Regions from separate parts of the Homo sapiens genome. Here all the other regions are linked to region 1. The links are contacts of gene promoters, found by promoter capture Hi-C in blood cells and fetal thymus (Javierre and others, 2016). All regions are on one chromosome and are shown on one strand. Each heading gives the region's core, a stretch centred on a gene start or on the middle of the fragment in contact. The rest is flanking DNA. Distances are from core to core; before and after follow the strand shown. Region 1 holds the start of BAALC (BAALC binder of MAP3K1 and KLF4). Region 2 overlaps RIMS2 (regulating synaptic membrane exocytosis 2). Region 3 has its middle 33 kb from the start of DCAF13. Region 4 overlaps SLC25A32 (solute carrier family 25 member 32).

Region 1 (4,343 bases), core at 1,105-3,604:
TTGGTCTTCAGAAATATCCCTCTCCCCTGAGGCTAACAGAAATTCCCAGGGAATTAAAATGACCCTGCCCATACAAGCGTCTTGCCAATTTCAGGGTGCTGTCCTGGGGCTGAAGTGGAGCTTCTCCTCTGGAGGATGCAGGCCTTCAGGACCACCTCTCTGGCAGGGCTGGCCCATGTTTGGCAGGGTACCATGAATGAGTGTGTCTGTCCCAGGCCCCACCTGTTGCAGTGACCAGATCTCATGATGGATGGGATATGAATTAGTATGGCAGAGTAATAAATCAAGGAGTGTCAGGAAAGTTGTGAGGAACATGTATGTACATATAGAGCCATCCCATAATAACTCTTTCATACCCATACATATGCATATACGCACATACACACACACACCATATACTCCCAGTCACCACGGCAACCATTTCTTAAAGCTGTACTTACGGGGTTTTGGTTGTTTTTTATTATTATTTTTTTCATGCTAGATCTTTTCACCCTTATTTCTTCGGAGTACATCTCTGGCCTTTGACTCTCTGCTGAGAAGTACCATACCTCCTTGGGAAACCCTGTCACATCTAACATTTACCAGGTCCCTCTAAAAGGCTCATATCTATCCTCATGCTGACACTGAATTCAGCCAACACACCATTTGGTGACTTGCTAAAAGCATTGGCAATACAAAATAACCATTCTGATTGCCACTGTGAGTCAGAAAAACTGGAGACAAATATAGTGTAATGTATTGTACAGCTTTCACAGACAGTCCTCAATTTTAAAATAAAACCAAGTCACAAAGTTAATGTGGAAAAGGAGCCAGCTTTGGTCCTTAAAAATGGAGAAACCTATTCTTGATTAAAGTGACAGCTCTATTTAGTAGGCATGGATTTAAGATTCTTAACCTTGTAAAAGTAATTCGCATTTCCTTCCTCTTCCATATGTTATACATTATGCTTCAAATTAACCCTATTTTCCATTTTAGATTTCATTATTCAAAAATGCCAATAATATCAGTGGGTGAAGAAACACTTAAAACATTTTTATCCAAATATTGACCTTGCTTTGGACAACATCCATGTAATAAGTAGTGAGATTTTTTCCTTTTAATGTCACCAATATGTTTATGATTAAAGGTCAGTCTGTGGCAACAGTTTGCATCTCTGCGCTATAATTACTTGTTCTGCTAAAAAATAAAAAAATAAAATAAAATAAAATCCTGACTTATGACCTGACCAGACAATTCTTTGCATCTCCTTTTATCAGATTTCTGCTGGATGAGGAATGACCTAGGCAAGAGTATTTAATTTATAGTCAAAATCCACATGTGTGCCCTGCCTCCTGCAAAGCATTGGGACACCATAGGGTAGGGAGAGAAGTCCTTTGCTATGGAACAACTGCTCCAAAAGTAACCTAAAGTGCAGAACTAGCGATGGGGCGGGGTGCATTTATTTTGACCTAAACTGGGATTCTGGTCTTTGAAGCCCGCGAGTGGGCTCATTTCCTAGAGGGAGAAAAGGGGAAGCGACAAGAAAGACTCCACCCAGGCGATCCCAGGCAGGCGCCTTGTGTATAAATCCAGGGAGAGAGGGGCACCAGGTGGCCAATGGATGAGAAGTCACCCGGCTGGGTACGCAGGTGGCCAGGGGATGGCAGATGGGCCAAAGCGGGGCGGAGGCGGCCCTGGGCGGATCAGGGGGTGGGTGGCTGAGGGATATGTGTGCGGAGGAGGTGGGCTGTCCTCCCACCCACCGGTCTCCCGACCAGCGAGCAAGCTTTGGACAAGGCCAAAGAGCATTGGGCTGCTGGAAGCTGGGGCATCGGCGCAGCCTTCGGTAAGGGGCTCTGGTCGACCCCACTCCCTGGGCTTGCATCTGTCCACTGATCAGTGGGCAGGTCCTGCCTCTGCTTCCTCCCAGCCACCCCCGCCGCGCCATCAATTCCTCAGGGAACCGGCTCCTCTCTCAGTGCCCGGGCCAAGGCGCCCGGGGTAGCGGGCGGGCGAGGGTCTGCAGGGGCCCGGCCACTTACCCGAGTGCAGGCCGCCCGCTTCGGGGCCGCTGTCCGGGGCGGCGGCGCTGGGCGGCGCGTCCGAGTCGGTGTAGGTGAGCCAGGTGGATTCTGTCTCCCGGGTCCAGCTCTCGTAGTAGCGGGGCTCGATGGCATCCGCCCGGCTCCCGCCGCAGCCCATCCTCCTGCGCCGCGGGAGCGCCCAGCGGCTGCTCGGCTGTCGGCTCTGGCGGCGGCTCAGCCCCGGAGGCGCAGCCCCGGCCCGCAAGGAGGCGGCGGCGGCGACATCGCGTCCCCGCTCCCGCCCGCGCTGCAGCCGCGCGGAGCTCCTGCGGTGCCCGCCGCCCCTAGTCCGGGCCCTCTCCCAGCCCGTCCCTCCTCTCCGCCTCCAAGGCCCTCCCTCCCCTCCGGTCCCCACCGCCCAGTCCTCCCTCCCAGCGCCCTGGCCGCCCCAAGGCCCCCGCTCGCCCGCCCCCTCCCTCAGGGCTCCGTGACGGCCCGGGAGCAGGAGCAGCGGCCCCGCAGCCGGAGGAGGGCTGGGGCTCCCGAGGCGCTCGGACCCGTCTGGCCGGCATTACCGTTCCCAGTCTCTGGCCCATCTATCCATCCATCCATCCATCCATCCATCCATCCGCTCACCCGCTCATTCATTCATCCATCCATCCATCCTTCCTTCCTTCTTTCCATCCATCCTGGAAAGAACTGAAACTCTTATCACGGGACCCCAGGCTTTCTGGCCACCTGTTACAAAAGCAATGGAACTGGGAGCAACCCCGCAAAACTGGTCAGGGAGTATTGCCACTAAGACTTAAGGAACAGTCAGAGCCTATGCCTGTCGTATCTGATTTGGGGAGGCAGGAGTAGGGCTATGATTTTTAAGAGAGTTAGGCTAGGCAGTGTCACTTACACCCCTTCCAGCTGTGGTACTTCATGATCCTCTGAACTTTAAACTCGAGAAAGCAATAGATCACCTGGAACCACGCAGCATCCTGAACCCCCTCTCTGGGCAAGGCTTGGAGGCATGGCCGGTCCCTTCAAGCCCAGGGTGGCCTTGACATTCCCGGGATCCAGTTGTCAGCCTTTCTTTTCTCGGTGCACCCTCAGGTCCATGCGGGTTCAGACCTAGAGCTCAGACTTGCGTAGGCCAATGAATTTACCTGTTCCAAGAATCCAGAACAGGTGGTGAAAGATGAAAATCTTCTTAGCCTTCAAGAGGGGGGTAGGAAAGGGAAGGGTTTGGAAGAATAACTCTTCAATGACCAAGCTCTGCTAGAATATGGTATTAAGTATCATATTCATTCATTCATTCATTCAATGTATATTTACTAAATTCCTATTGTGGCAAAAGACTGTTCTAGTAGACATAATACATATATAATATATTTTGTATATTATCCATTGTATGTAGACTATAGGGTGTGATGTTTAATATAGCATGTAAAGCATAGAGAATATAGTACTCATTATATCCTATATAATTTATAGAATGTACGAGAGTACATTGTCTATAACATTTAGCACGTAGCATCCAATAGGTAGGGCAAGTTCAGAGCATTGCCTGGCACAGAGTAGGCCCTCAGTAAATGTCCAGTGAATTAATAATGAAGTATCTTTTTATAGTAATTTGATTCACTTAAATTATTGTAATTTGGGCTAAAGATGATCCAGTTGAGGGTAGAGCTGTCAGACATTCCTCTGGCAGGCACTCACCAGAATCCATAATGTGGAAGGGAGCAAAGATTCATGGAACTGTGGCCAGGGTCTCCTCCTCCTCATGCTGAGCGCAGCACCCGTTCGCACCCCAGGACTCAGGCTGGCCTCCTCTGCAGGCTTTGCTTCTCCTTTTGAGATGGCCTTGACAGGACTCTTCAACCTTGTTTTAGGTGTAAGGTGGAGGGAGTGCAGTTATCCGGGAAGTGGTGGCTTCCCTAGTCCTTTGGAATTCAGATGCCCTGTGCCTCTTTTCCTTCCCCCCTGAATATTTTGATTTCAGAAGAACCAGCTTTCAGGGAGAGAGAATACTTAACATCTCTAGCAGAGCCTGTGCTTTCCTCAGTTCTACGGCACAGTGCTCCTTTCATAACCAGCCACTTCGTGATGTCACCACCCAAAGAGCAGACAGACCAGAAAGAGTGTCTGAGTTAGACCGTCCTGGGGGAGTTCTAGAAAACGAAAGAAACTGAAAGAGCTAGAGCTTGGTGAGCACAGGAAACAGAGTAAACGTGAGGTGAAGTGGAGGGGTATCCTGGGGCCAAATAGAAACCCACATGCCCATATGTCTAAATTGTAAAAGCTATAAACCAAGTGAGCAAGTTTAATTGAAACATGGGCTGTCCTCATACC
Region 2 (4,343 bases), core at 1,102-3,601, 390 kb before region 1:
AGCCAGTGATCTGGCTTGGTAAAGCCAGACATGGTAAGTACTACCCTATGAAGGAAGTACTATTATCCTCATTTTATATAAGGAGGCTGAGGCAAAAAAAAATGAATTTGCTAAAGGTTAGATGCTTAAAAACCAGGCTTAGAACCCAAATCTCAAGGTCTCAAATTGCTGTCCTGGTAGAACAGAAGGATTGAAGAACTACTCTTTGACAAATACATTAGATCTTACTAAAACTGTCATATCCTTAACAATATCTCTGAATAAAGTATGTGTTTAGTGAGATACATTTTGAACTATTCTAAGTTTTCAATTCCAAAAATCACATTTTTCTAATTTCATTCAGGTTTCTTCAGGATTCAATGCCATTTGCTCTCAGGCGTTAACCATATAGCATTTGTAGAAACCTCAATTACAATATAATCACTGTTAATTTCTGTCTCCTTTACCATTGTGTTAGTTGAGCTCCTAACTATGTAGCCAAGTGCTTTATATGAATTTAATGTATTTTCTTATTTAAACCTCACACACACGCAAAATAAGTTGAGCTAAGTATTATGATTTTATGGGTGAGAAACTGAGACTTAATAGAGATTAGGACAAAAACCATGTCTTCTTCATCTATGTATCCCCAGTGCCTGGCAAATATGCTGCCATATAGTGAATTAAAAGTTCAATGAATAGATCAGAGAATTAATTTATCAGTTGTGAGTTTGGTTTTTGTTTTACAACCTATTGTCAAGTGTTGCAGTTTTCCTTTGTTATAGTTCTTGTCATTTTTAAATTTACAATCCAAAAATAGACATTATTCAAAGTGTGACTGATATGTTTTGGATCTATGTCCCAACCTAAATCTCACATCGAATTGTGATCCCCAGTGTTGGAGGGTGGGACCTGGTGGGAGGTGATTGGATCATAGGGGCAGAGCTCTCATGAATAGTTTAGCACCACTTCCTGGTGCTGTTCTCATGATGGTTAGTGAGTTTTTGCAAGATCTAGCTATTTAAAAGCGTATAGCACCTCCCCCTTCAGTGTCTCTTGCTCTTGCTCTGGCCATGCAAGATGTGCCTGCTTCCCCCTCACCTTCCACCATGATTGAAAGGTCTCCCCAGAAACCGAGCAGACGTCAGCATCATGCTTCCTGTACAGCCTGAGGAACCATGAGGTTAATTAAATTAACCTGCTTTTCTTTATAAATTACCTAGTCTCAGGTATTCCTTTACAGCAATGCAAGAATGGACTGATACAGTGACCAATGTACATCTTAAGATTATTTCACCGTTTCTATACTCTGCATTAATACTTCTCCTTTCTTACTGCTTGTTCTTAGGTCCATGGAGAGTCTTAAAGTCTTCTCTGCCATAAATCACATTTATAAAAGTATTTAAATAAACTTTAAATTTTTAATTTGGTCCCATACACACAAAAGTGCCCTTGTTTGTTTCTGCTAACACAAAGTCAAGAGAGCATCTTTCTAGAACTTACTACAACCAAAGTAGGTTATCAGAATATCTCTGCAGTTTCCATTCCCAGAAAATAAGTCTGAACCAAATAATTGGCTCCCCAGTAAAACACAATATGATGACACTAAAGTCAGAGGTGACCCAAACTACTATTTTATTATTAGCTGCTTCTACTTTTGCTATAGTCTCTACTTGTGTCAACTATATCATAAGAATACAAGTATTGAAGACAGATGGACTTGGCTTTTAACATACTACCTGCTACTGTAATTACTTGAACTCTGAGTTCCACCTATAAAATAAGCATGGTAGCAACTTCCCCCTGGATTTTTTGCTATAATAAAATGATACACATAAAGCACCTCACACCATGCCTACTGCTCTATACATGTTAGCTCCTTCTGAACTTTGTTCCTTATGTGATTTCACATTCTCTTCATCACTCGAATCTCAGAGTATTCAGAAGCTTATTAAAGTTGAGCTCTACTTATCTTGTCACATTTAGCTACCTGAAAGACTAAGCCATCACCCATTGCTAAACCTATCATTAATCAAAATGCACCAAATTGTTGCCCCACAGTTTGGGAAGAACTGAAGGTGAGGAAGCAGAACAGATGGCCAAAGTACACCACTGGCTCCTGGAGTCTAGCCAAAAGCTAACGTTGAATTCTGGCAAAGCTCTGCGGGCATTCAAATCAGTTCTTCTAGCTGTAATCGACTCAATAATGGGGCTACACATTACAGTATTAAAATCCTGTAGATATACTTGAGCCTGATCTGCCACCTATGGAATGAATAATCACATTTCTGAGCAAGGTTCCTGGTAGTTTCTAATATCAGAGTCAAAAGTCTAGGTAGAGAGAAGGCTTTTCTAGCAGTATAGCTCATTGCCAAACTATGTAGAAATAATTAAGGGCAATCGATAGGCTGCATAGCAAGAGAAGAGGAAGCATTTATACTCCTCCTCCAAACTTACTCTACTTCTGCTAGCATAACCTCTGCTACAGCTAATGCTTACATGACTAGGATAAAATTTCACAAAGAGAAAGTTCTGACATTCAGAGCTGATGATAAAGGTAGTTGTTGAAATTAACCATATATAAGTACATTCTAAAGTCGTAAATAACAATTTATATTCAAAGGCAAAAAAACATTCTTTTAGCCAGAAAGAGGCAACAGTAAACTGGATATTTTCAAGCTAAAGAGAAATAAATTTCTCTTGTTCATTCAAAGAAGAAAATCAATACAATGTAAAGATTTCAAATAAGTCTCAACTGGTATTTTTTACTGGCCTAAATCAAGGGTTGGCAAGCTTTTTTTCCTGTAAAGTGCCAGACAGTAAATAAGGCTTTGTAAGTCAAAAGGCAAAATTAAGGATAATGTGTAGTGCTAACAGAACAATAAAAAACAAATTTCTACAAAACCCTTATTGATAAAATTCAAATAATTGAATGTAATAATACAGGTCTACTGATGAGAATAATGGAATTCTCTTTGGGGGGAAAATATTTCACTCAATTGGGATTCAAAGTTAGTATTCCAAATGATCCAAATCAATTGCAAATGTCCTGTTGTTAATGCTGATCTGTAATATGATTTTATGTATTTCATTTTAGTAATATATTTTTGCACAGATAGGAAATACAAATACGTACTGATATCAAACAATGAGAATGTTTTTAATTGATGATATTCATCACTTAGAGGATACTTATAGAATTGAGTTTGAGACTTCTCTAGACATTTGCCTTTTAGCATGTTATACATCATACATTGCAGATGAAAGTTGGATATTAACTCTTCAATTACACAGTTAAATAAATTTTGAAATATGTATATGTCTTTTGTACTTGCTTCAAAGTCTGAAAAATTAGGTTGATACTATAGTCTGAGCTTGGAAAATATATCAACTGAAAATCTGTGTGGGAATGAGGAGCTCACTACTTAACTATTGACAGCATAGGAAGCATATAAAGTAGCTTGAAATTATTTGTGATAAACATTGTCATTGAAATGACTTTAAGTTCCATGGTAGAACTTATAAATTCCATATGTAAGCACAGTTTTACCTTATATGTGGAGCTTCTAAGTTGAACACAGAAATTTATCAATTTTGCAGCAAAAGCAAATTTCCAAAGCCATCCAGTGTTCAATAACAGGGCTTAGTGTATTTTTCAGAAACAGTTCAACGTCAGCCTTGAGCTCAAAAAATTGAAATAAAATTTTATGACTGCTAGACCATCACACTTCTATTTGATAGAATGAGTCATAATATTCAATTTCTGACAAAAATGCACAGAAGTCATGATGGTTACATCTACAAGAAGGAACGAAGTTCACTGTTGACACTAGTGACTCAGTAACACATGATGATTCAAATATTTTCTGCAGAATATCTACTCATAAATAACACAATGAATAACCATAAGCTCTAAACACCTTAATTTTTACAAGCTTTGAAAAGTTGTCCAACTAAGACTTTTTCTACTCCATACATTATTTTTATCTTTTATCAGGTTTTTTTCTTTTTCTTTTTTTTTTTTTTTTTTTTTGAGACAGGGTCTCGCTTTGTCCCCCAGGCTGGAGTGCAGTGGCATGATCTCAGCTCACTGCAACCTCTGCCTCCTAGGTTCAAGCAATTCTCCTGCCTCAGCCTCCCATGTTTTATCAGTTTTTAACACATCTTAGCAGATTCCACTTCAGGTTGTACTAAATTAATGTTTTCTCAAATTATTTGAAAATGTTCTTGCCACTAATTGTTCCACACTGACTATTCAGAGGCTTATTAAAACTCAATACTAACTCCTAAAATAAAAAACAACAGAAAAGTATTGATAACATTTGTCAATTCACCAAGAGTCAAGGAAAACCACTCAAAAATCA
Region 3 (4,343 bases), core at 563-3,062, 310 kb before region 1:
CAGGCCTACCCTTGACTTTCTTAGATCTTGAAGCAGATATCTTTGTCAAGATTGCTACTTGCCTAGGGCACAGCATTGTCTCATTAGAAATCCTCAGCTCTAAAGACGTGGGTGTGCCCACCTTCATACACCCATTTGACATAAGACATGACTGAATTTCAGAGGTGTTTTGCCCTACAAGCACTTACTAGAGACATAATTGATTATTATAGAATACCAACAGATTTGGAGCAATTAATTTCTTCTACCTTATTTACTCTAACTTAAGCAAAACATGATTAGTAAAAGTATTTTAAGATATGTATTTCCTCTAGAAAATATTTCACATTTTTTTCTCATAAAATGAATCATAGTGATTTGAAAGTCCCAGATGGATAAATAGGAAACTTGTTACAGCTGAAATTGAATTCATTCATTATAAATCAGATTGGATAATGCTATTCAAAGCTTCATATTTCACCTGGAAAGAAATCTAATTAACAAGATTGCTTTTTACAAATTAATTTCCTGACCTATTTTCTTATAGAGTTGAAACTAAACTCAAATATATTTGTTCTAATTACTTAATACTTATATTCGAGCTTGAAACTCTTATATTTGGGATTCTATAAGCCGTGATAACACACGTAAAACCAAGTGAATTTTACAATTAAAATTAGAAATACTGAGAGTAGCTTTGAGGAACATGTATTATCATGCCAAACGCAATATTTGGGCTTATCTTCCTCCCAATTCTAATTGTTTAAGGGAACTTTTGTGTGATGTTTTGATTAAGAAGTCCTTGAGGGAAACAAGTATCTTCATAAGGAAGTTCAAGGTGTTAAAACCAACAAAAACCTTCATAAATGATGCAAAGCAAGGCTTCCTGAATGTGTTAGCTGGAGAGCAACACTTCTATATAAAGCTTCTATTTCATCCCTGCTAAAGTGAAGATAAAATTCCCTTTGAGATAATTATGAAGTCTGCAAAATTTGTGTTCTTCTCAGATGCAATGCATGCTAAGACCTCAGCTCTTGCTTGGCCAATTAAGGGTTGCATTTACTGGGAATGCCTGCAGTACTCTCAGCAGTGTGGTTTTGCAAGTTTGGGCAGAATTCAGGGGTTCATTGGTGGTTGGCCAGAGCACAGAGGGAGGGTTTCTGTGTGGTAGTTCAATTTAGGAACCAGGAAAGACATATACCAAAGTGTCCATTATGCTAGTAATAAGCCAGGCATGGCTGGCAGCCATGAGGAAGCAGATTTGGTAGGAGCTAGTCAGGGTTCCATGACACTACTCAACACAGGGGCTCAGGGTGGAGCCACTTGGAGAAAAGATGGCAATTGGGGTCTACACCCAGACCTGGGAGACACTGAGGGTCTAGGGAGCTTAACTGGATTCCAAGCCCTCATTATACTTCTTATTTCATTCAGTAGCACCAGAGGCAAGACTGAGCCTAAGAGCTGTTTTTTGGGGTGTATGTCAGAAAGCCTAGGATTATGGATCTAGGAAAACAGGCAGTGGAAATAAAGTTAAGATTTGCCCCTCTTCCAGTGCCCTTTATTGACTCGGGGCCACCTGTGCTACTTTCTTCTTAGTTTCTTCACCTCCCTCCCCATGTGAAAATACTGATTTGGTATTGCTATTTATTTTGATGATTAACTGATATGTACTGAGCATTTTATAGGCTTGCCTACCCACAGCTCATTTTGAAGACCCCCTACTTCTAGCCCAAGCTAAGACAGCTGTCAAAGGTAGACATCTGAAAGCCGCTAACCAGGACCTCTGATGGAACACTGCTACAAAAGACCCTGCCCCTAAATACACGTTTCTAGCTAAGTTTTCTTCTCTTAGGAACTGAAACTGAAAGACAGACGTAAGTGGATAATTGATGGGGCACTGGAACTGCAAAGTCATGTCAAGTCAGTCTGGGGCAGCCATTTTGGGACATGAAGAGCTGAAGCTATGGAAGAGTAGAAATTGGGAGCAAGGACAAGATAATTAGTAGAAAACGTACAGAATAGCGGCACAGAAAGTCTCATTTTTGTGGCTATCTACTGTCCAGCCCCAGAGTCCTGGATGTCTGGCCCAGCTGTATTGGGGTTCCTGTACTTGGGTTTCTGTGTGAGATTCCTGCTCACAAACTGCTTGAAATGCCTTGAGGAAAATATCATTCCCTGTAACAAAATGATCCCCAGTCTACAAGAAAACTATTTACTCAACTAACCATTGTATTTTTAATCTTTGTGTTCAGTTGCAGCAAAGATGTTTTATTCACTGAAGGCAGAAGACAGAATCATAAAATCATCCAGGCCTATTTTTAAAGCTGGCCCTACAGATAAAACTGATTTTCTCCTTGGGTGGATGAATTATGGAGGGTAAAGAGCAGAAGATTGTGTGTGTGTGTGTGTGTGTGTGTGTGTGTGTGTGTGTGTGTGTGTGTGTGTGTGTGTGTGTATTGTATATATTTTGCTGCTGGCTTTCCCTCTGTTCCTTTAAGTATGCACGGGCATGTGTGTGCACCTGCTGTAAGCCTACTTCTGTCGCTGCTGGCTGATCTTGCCATGGGCCCATCCATCCACAGGATTTGCAACACACTCAGCTCTGGCTCCGTGCCTCCATTTCTCACACCCACCTTCATTTTTACCTAATACTTGCCCTTTTTTTCCTCTTCCCTAAGACCCCCTAGATCTATATTTTGTGCTTTCTGATCCATTAATCTTAAGTACCCTAATGAAGCTTCTATCCCATAAGTCGCTTATCTCTCTGGAGAATATTAGCCCAAATCTTATAGTTGACCCTTAAATGACATGGATTTGAACTGCACAGCTCTACTCATGCAGAAATTTTTTTCAAACAGATAAAAAACACAGTATTCATGGGATGCGAAACATGCATATACAAAGGCCCAACTTTCTCATACCCAGGGGTTCCACAGAACTGACTTTGGGGACTTAAAAATGTATGGATTTTGGTATGTGCAGGACAGGGTTGTAGGGTCCTGGAACCCATCCCCCATGTATACAAGGGACAAATGTGAATTATTTGACCTAAGATAATGACTTTCTGATACAGATTGCTGGAATTTTCTTTCATTAACAGTGCCATATCTGAATGATGGATCACAGATTTTGAAAACAGCCCTACTGTATTTCTACTCACTCATGCAATATCCCAGAATCAAACGGTGTTTGATAAATGCCATTTACCTCTGAAGGGCTTCTTTCCCCAGCAGGAAGTCAGGCTTTCCTCTTGGGCACTACTATAGTATCCTGCTAAGACATCATAATGTGCTGCAATTACTTGTTTTCATGTTTATTTCCTTTGAGACTGAGCTCTTTTAGAATCTTTTATAGATTCAGTGCACAGTACTGAGACTAAATATGGATTATAATAGGACCTTCCTTTTGTGGTTCTTAGAATTAAATTAAGTGCATGTAAAGCATCTGCAGTGTTGTAGATGTCCAATAAACATCAGCTGCTATTGTTAATAGTATTAATTTAATAAAACTTGTGCCCTTACACCCAGGTTTCTGTCTTGGCTATCCCTGTGGATGGTATGTCATGCAGAGACAGGGAACATAGGAGATGAAATTTAGGGGCTGGAGCAAAATAATGAGCTCATTTCTGGATACTGGCTTCAGTGCTTGTGAAGACATCTGGCCACGAAGCTGGTATTGCCTTTGACTTAAAAAAACATACACACCTAGCTGGGACTCAATACATGTTGACTAAATGAAAAAATGCTCATTCAATAAATCATTAATTCATCCAGGTTCTTGGCCCTGACTTAATCTATTTAAATAATTTTAAGGGAAGGGAATCAAAGCAAACAATGTTTACTTTAAAATGTATGCACCATTAGCACTACTAGGAGTGTCACAATACCCCAAAACTGGAAAACACTGATCCATGTTTCAAAATCCTCGAATTAACTACTGATTTGGTATTTTCTAATATGGGACTTTAAGGCCCTGTATGAATTACCGATGTTCACTGGGTAGCAATCAATTTTGAATTTATTGCTCAAACATTCAAGCTGACCACGAATGTTCCCTAAGAACAAGATGTCTTGATTTCCTGATTAACTCTTCTTGCCCATGATAACCCTTAAGTCTTTCCCCCTCCTTTTCTCTAAAAATATGATGATGAATGGGGAATATAAAAGAACAGATTGCATAGCAACCTGCTTTCTCTGGGTCCATCAAAGAGAAGAGTCAAAACAGTGACCAAGTGGCAAGACTTAATAACAAGGCATTTGATATAACTTTTCTTACCTGAAGGGCTACTGTAAATCCTTTATATTTACTTATGTTTCTTTATCTCTGTAAGTAACCCTTTCCTGTTGCCACCATCCTTATTTTCT
Region 4 (4,343 bases), core at 563-3,062, 260 kb before region 1:
CTGGGACTACAGGCACCTGCCACCACGCCTGGCTAACTTTTTTTTATATTTTGAGTAGAAATGGGGTTTCACCATGTTAGCCAGGATGGTCTCAATCTCCTGACCTTGTGATCCGCCTGCCTTGGCCTCCCAAAGTGCTGGGATTACAGGCGTGAGCCACTGCGCCTGGCCAGACCATTTTAGAATTGGGAAATTTTAGTGAGAAAAAATGCACTGTAAATATGCTTTAGTTTTAATTCAGTTGGGATGCACTACCTAGCGAAAATTGAGAAACTATATACTTCTCAGAGAAATATCTGACATCTATTGTCATTCCATTGCTATTTTTTTTCCCCAGAGACTTCCATAATTTAAAATAAAATCCTAGATCCAGTTCTTGTTTTTTGGCATAAATACTTAATCTATTTTAAATTTATAAAATCTGAGCTTCTAGGATCCAGCTGTGTCAACCTTTATTTAGCATATATAACTATAAATCACTTATTACAGATGCTAAATAGATCACCTTTTACAGATGCTGAAATGTTTGGGATATGTTTGTTGACAAGGTAAATGGAAATGAGAAACTTTATACTTCAGTTTTCAGATATATGGATCTAGATCCCAAATAAATGATTAATCTTCATTGGTTTCTCAAATTCAGGTTGAAATACAAATTAATAGCCTTTATTGATTTTACTTTTATGAGTCATTGTAGACATCTATAAATATAAAAGGGCCTGTACCCAAAGGATGCCAGAATACTAGTATTTTTATTTATCGTAAACATCCACGAGTGCTGTTGCACTACCATCTATTTGTTGTAAATAAAAGTGTTGTTTTCAAAGCCATCTTTAAATAGTTCTTTAAAAATAGGTCTTTTTTTTATATTTTGGAAAAGGCATTGTTTTTAAAGTAAAGATAAAATGGTAAGTACCTAATTGTATTTACTGTAATATCTTATAACATGCAGATGAATGCTTTATAAGTTAAATATGATGTATTTTTTCATACTTCTGGATTATACTATAATTCATATGAAATCTTGATATTAGTCCCCACACGGAAAAAGTGAACTGCAGTTGATATTTGGTGTTTAAGATAGCACCATTGTTTAAATACCGCCTATGTACTCCCAAATGAATAAAACATAATTCTTGTCCTCTGAGAGCATACAAGCTTGTGTGATAGATAAATATGCATTAAATAATTACAGCTATAGATTAAGAACTCGTAAGGAATATCTCACAAAGCCTGGTAAGAGTTCTGACAGAAGAGAACTCAATTTCAGTCATTCAACAACAAATAGTCACTCAACTCCTGCTCTTTGGCAGGTACGTCACCAAGCACTGAGGATATAGCAATAAATAAGCCAGACAATATTCCTGCCCTCAGGGAATTTTCATCTTGGTGTAAGTGACAGAAAAGGAAATATATGCATAATGTAATTTCAGGTATTTAATGCTATAAATAAAACTACAGCAGAACGGGGGAATAGTGTTGCTATCTTAGGTAGTATGGTTGGGGTCAGGAAAGGTCTCTGAGATAGTATTTGGAACATTTTGAAAGAAGTGAGGAAGCGAGCCACAGTGAGAGGAAACACATTCTAGGCAGAGAGGACAGGAAGTAAAAAGGGCCTGAGGGAGGAATTAAGTTGGCTAGAGGGGATGGGTGAGGAGAGAGAGGAGGTTGGAGAAGTGGCCACTGCAGTATGGTGGGAAAGAGCTCAGGTGGGACAGCCAGGCCCTCTGGCTTCAAAATTCAGCTTTCCCATTTTCTGTTTGACCTTAGGCAGATCACTTCAGCCCTCTTTGTCTTAGGTTTCCTGATCTGTAAAATGGTGTCTTAGATCACTTCCTCTGTAACAATGCCGGAGATGGGGATTCTTGGGCAAGTGATTGAGGGAGCACTTTCAGGAGAAATCTGTAATGGAGTAAAGCAAGCAGGGTAAGGCCGGGGAAGAAGAGTTTCAGGAGTAGTGCAGCCTCACCCTGACTCATAGGGCACTCTGCTGAATGAATTGGGCCCAGCGTTGTCCTGCCCAGAGTTGAAGGGGCTGAGCCATTAGGTTCCCACATCAGGCTGTCACGGACCACTGGCTACAGGGAGAAAGGATGGAGGAGTGACTGTTACCTCTCCTCAGCCAAGGGCAATCCTCCAGATAAGGGTGGAGGTGTCAGTTCTTACCAGCCAACACCTACAGCAGCTAGGGTATGGGTGCACCAGTCCTGTGAAAGGGGTCTGGGTAAGTCACCAACAGCATCTACTGCAAATGAGGATATTAAAAGTACATAGCCGTAGGATTATTGAGAGGATTAAATTAATGAATTTTTAAAAGGCGCTTAGTGTGCCTGGGCCAATAAATGTTAGCAGAGACCAGGCCTTGTAGGCCATGGTGAAGAGTTTTGATTGAGAGATCATTCTGGTGATTGTATAGAGGAAACAGGAGAAAGGCAAAAAAGCAGGAATACTAGTTGGGAAGCTTTTACAAATGTCGAGTCATGAGCAGGTGGCAGCTTGGACCTGGTCGATGGAGTCTGAAGTGGTGATTTATAGCTTGGGGGAACTAGAGCAGGGTTCATGGAGGGGGAAACATTTAAGCTGGGCATTGAATGAAGATTCCAGAGGGAACCATGGAAAAAGGAAAGCACAGGTGACCTGCCTTGAACAGTGAGTTGTCAATTAATGTGATAATAAAAGGAAAAGGAAGAGAAAGATGGAAGATTGAGACCAGGACATGAGAACTCTCAGAGCCTGACAACCTATGTGGGCTTTATTGGGTAAAAGAGAAGTAAGAGTAATTAGAACAGAGAGACATGGCTACTGCTTAGGGGTGACAGAGGAAGACTGGTCAGACAGGAGGAACAAATTCAAAACAGAAGGTGTTAGTCAACCAATAGATATTTCAGTAGGATGAAGATTGATGCCACTGATAAAGCAGATTTGAATTATAGAGGCTGATGACACATTGCAAGCAACTTAGGGGGTGGGGTGACTGTAAGTATTTATTTCACTATGGGCTCTTCTTTCCTGGATTTTGGCAGATGAAAGGAAGGTAAAGAACTTTAGCTTGTAAAGGTACTGCAGTTCTACGAAGGAGTATAGGTAGGAGAGGTTGGCAAAGGGAAAACCAGAACATGGCTGTAGGGAGAACCCTTGAAGATAAAGATACAGGCTAAGGGGATGGGCACGGTGGCTCACGCCTATAATCCCAGCACTTTGGGAGGCTGAGGCGGGCGGGTCACGAGATCAGGAGATCGAGACCATCCTGGCCAACATGGTGAAACTTACTAAAAATACAACAATTAGCTGGGCGTGGTGGTGCGTGCTTGTAATCCCAGCTGCTCTGGAGGCTGAGGCAGGAGAATAGCTTGAACCAGGGAGTCAGAGGTTGCAGTGAGCTGAGATCACGCCACCGTACAACCTGGCGACAAAGCGAGACTCCGTTTCAAACAAACAAAAAAAAAAAACCAACTTGCTGGAGCTGTGCACCAGAGAATGTAATCAAAGACAATGGACAATGATGGGTACTATGCCTTGTGAAAAGAAGACTATCATATTTCAATACGTGCTTTTGTAGTCTGACAATATTTAGAAAGTCATGTCTTCTAAACACACTAAAAGAGGGATATCAACTAAAAAGTATGTTGGAGTTTATGAGTCATCAGAGTTAATATTTTCTTTTGAATGTGGACACTTAATATAAAATCCTCCAGATAAAGTATGTATTATTACCATTTTTATAACAAGGTCTCTTTAGCTATTGTAAAATAGCTTATAGGAAGAAAATCCTATGACATGATTTAGTTACCGTTATGCCTGTTTTCAAAAGATGTGTTAGGTAACATGCAGAAACTATGTGAGGTTTGGGGTTAAAGTCTTAAATTTCATTCTAAAGGCCTAAATAGGAGAAAGACTCTGGAAGTACCTGTAATGAATACCTGTTAATTGGCTGCACAGCATCCGTCTCTTCTTCCTTCTTGGAGTAGTAGTCTAAAGTTCTTTTTTTGTTGTTGTTTATTTTTTGAGACGGGGTCTCGCTCTGTCACCCAGTTTGGAGTGTAGTGACGTGATCACGTGATCATAGCTCACTGCAGGCTCAAACTCCTGGACTCAAGGGATCTTCCCACCTCATAGCTGAGACTACAGGCATGAGCTACCTCACCTGGACCCTGAATTTCTTTTTGGAACCTACCCCCTCCCTCCATTTTCAGTTTTGTGATTTAGATGGGATCAGCCTCACCTGCGCCAGAGATAGGCCCTAATAAACAGAGCCGACCTGAATGTGCCATCTCTATTCATAACGAGTGGTTTGGAATTGACATAGTTACTTAAGCTGGTCTGATCAGTGACTCTTAAAGACA

Evidence for each region. The method cuts DNA at HindIII sites, captures the fragments that hold promoters and counts their contacts. A CHiCAGO score of 5 or more calls a contact.
Region 2: a fragment that was not itself captured here is called in contact with the fragment with the promoter of BAALC in region 1 in 2 of 17 cell types (total CD8 T cells and activated CD4 T cells); the score reaches 5.2 in total CD8 T cells.
Region 3: a contact is called between a fragment that was not itself captured here and the fragment with the promoter of BAALC in region 1, in 3 of 17 cell types (megakaryocytes, M2 macrophages and endothelial precursors). The highest score is 5.6, in megakaryocytes.
Region 4: a fragment that was not itself captured here is called in contact with the fragment with the promoter of BAALC in region 1 in 3 of 17 cell types (megakaryocytes, endothelial precursors and M0 macrophages); the score reaches 8.6 in megakaryocytes.

Annotation. Positions count from the first base shown.
Region 1 is chr8:103,138,736-103,143,078 of GRCh38, reverse strand. BAALC (BAALC binder of MAP3K1 and KLF4) reads right to left here and starts at 2,354. Exons shown (of 3, transcript NM_024812.3): 1 at 2,022-2,354. The coding sequence starts at 2,181. It overlaps LINC01181 (long intergenic non-protein coding RNA 1181), which reads right to left. Exons shown (of 6, transcript NR_145429.1): 5 at 3,711-3,873; 6 at 2,724-3,206. BAALC-AS2 (BAALC antisense RNA 2) reads left to right here and starts at 1,737. Exons shown (of 2, transcript NR_027071.1): 1 at 1,737-1,825. RefSeq lists a silencer at 2,129-2,318. The HindIII fragment of the contact is 3,212 bases long and covers 1,768-4,343 here.
Region 2 is chr8:103,533,331-103,537,673 of GRCh38, reverse strand. All of the region lies in intron 1 of RIMS2 (regulating synaptic membrane exocytosis 2), which reads right to left. Among named protein-coding and RNA genes, the nearest start is that of RIMS2, 35 kb to the right of the region's middle. The HindIII fragment of the contact is 846 bases long and covers 1,929-2,774 here.
Region 3 is chr8:103,445,939-103,450,281 of GRCh38, reverse strand. No RefSeq gene overlaps it. Among named protein-coding and RNA genes, the nearest start is that of DCAF13, 33 kb to the right of the region's middle. The HindIII fragment of the contact is 1,812 bases long and covers 907-2,718 here.
Region 4 is chr8:103,395,449-103,399,791 of GRCh38, reverse strand. SLC25A32 (solute carrier family 25 member 32) reads left to right here. Exons shown (of 7, transcript NM_030780.5): 7 at 1-1,154. Among named protein-coding and RNA genes, the nearest start is that of SLC25A32, 17 kb to the left of the region's middle. The HindIII fragment of the contact is 1,303 bases long and covers 1,161-2,463 here.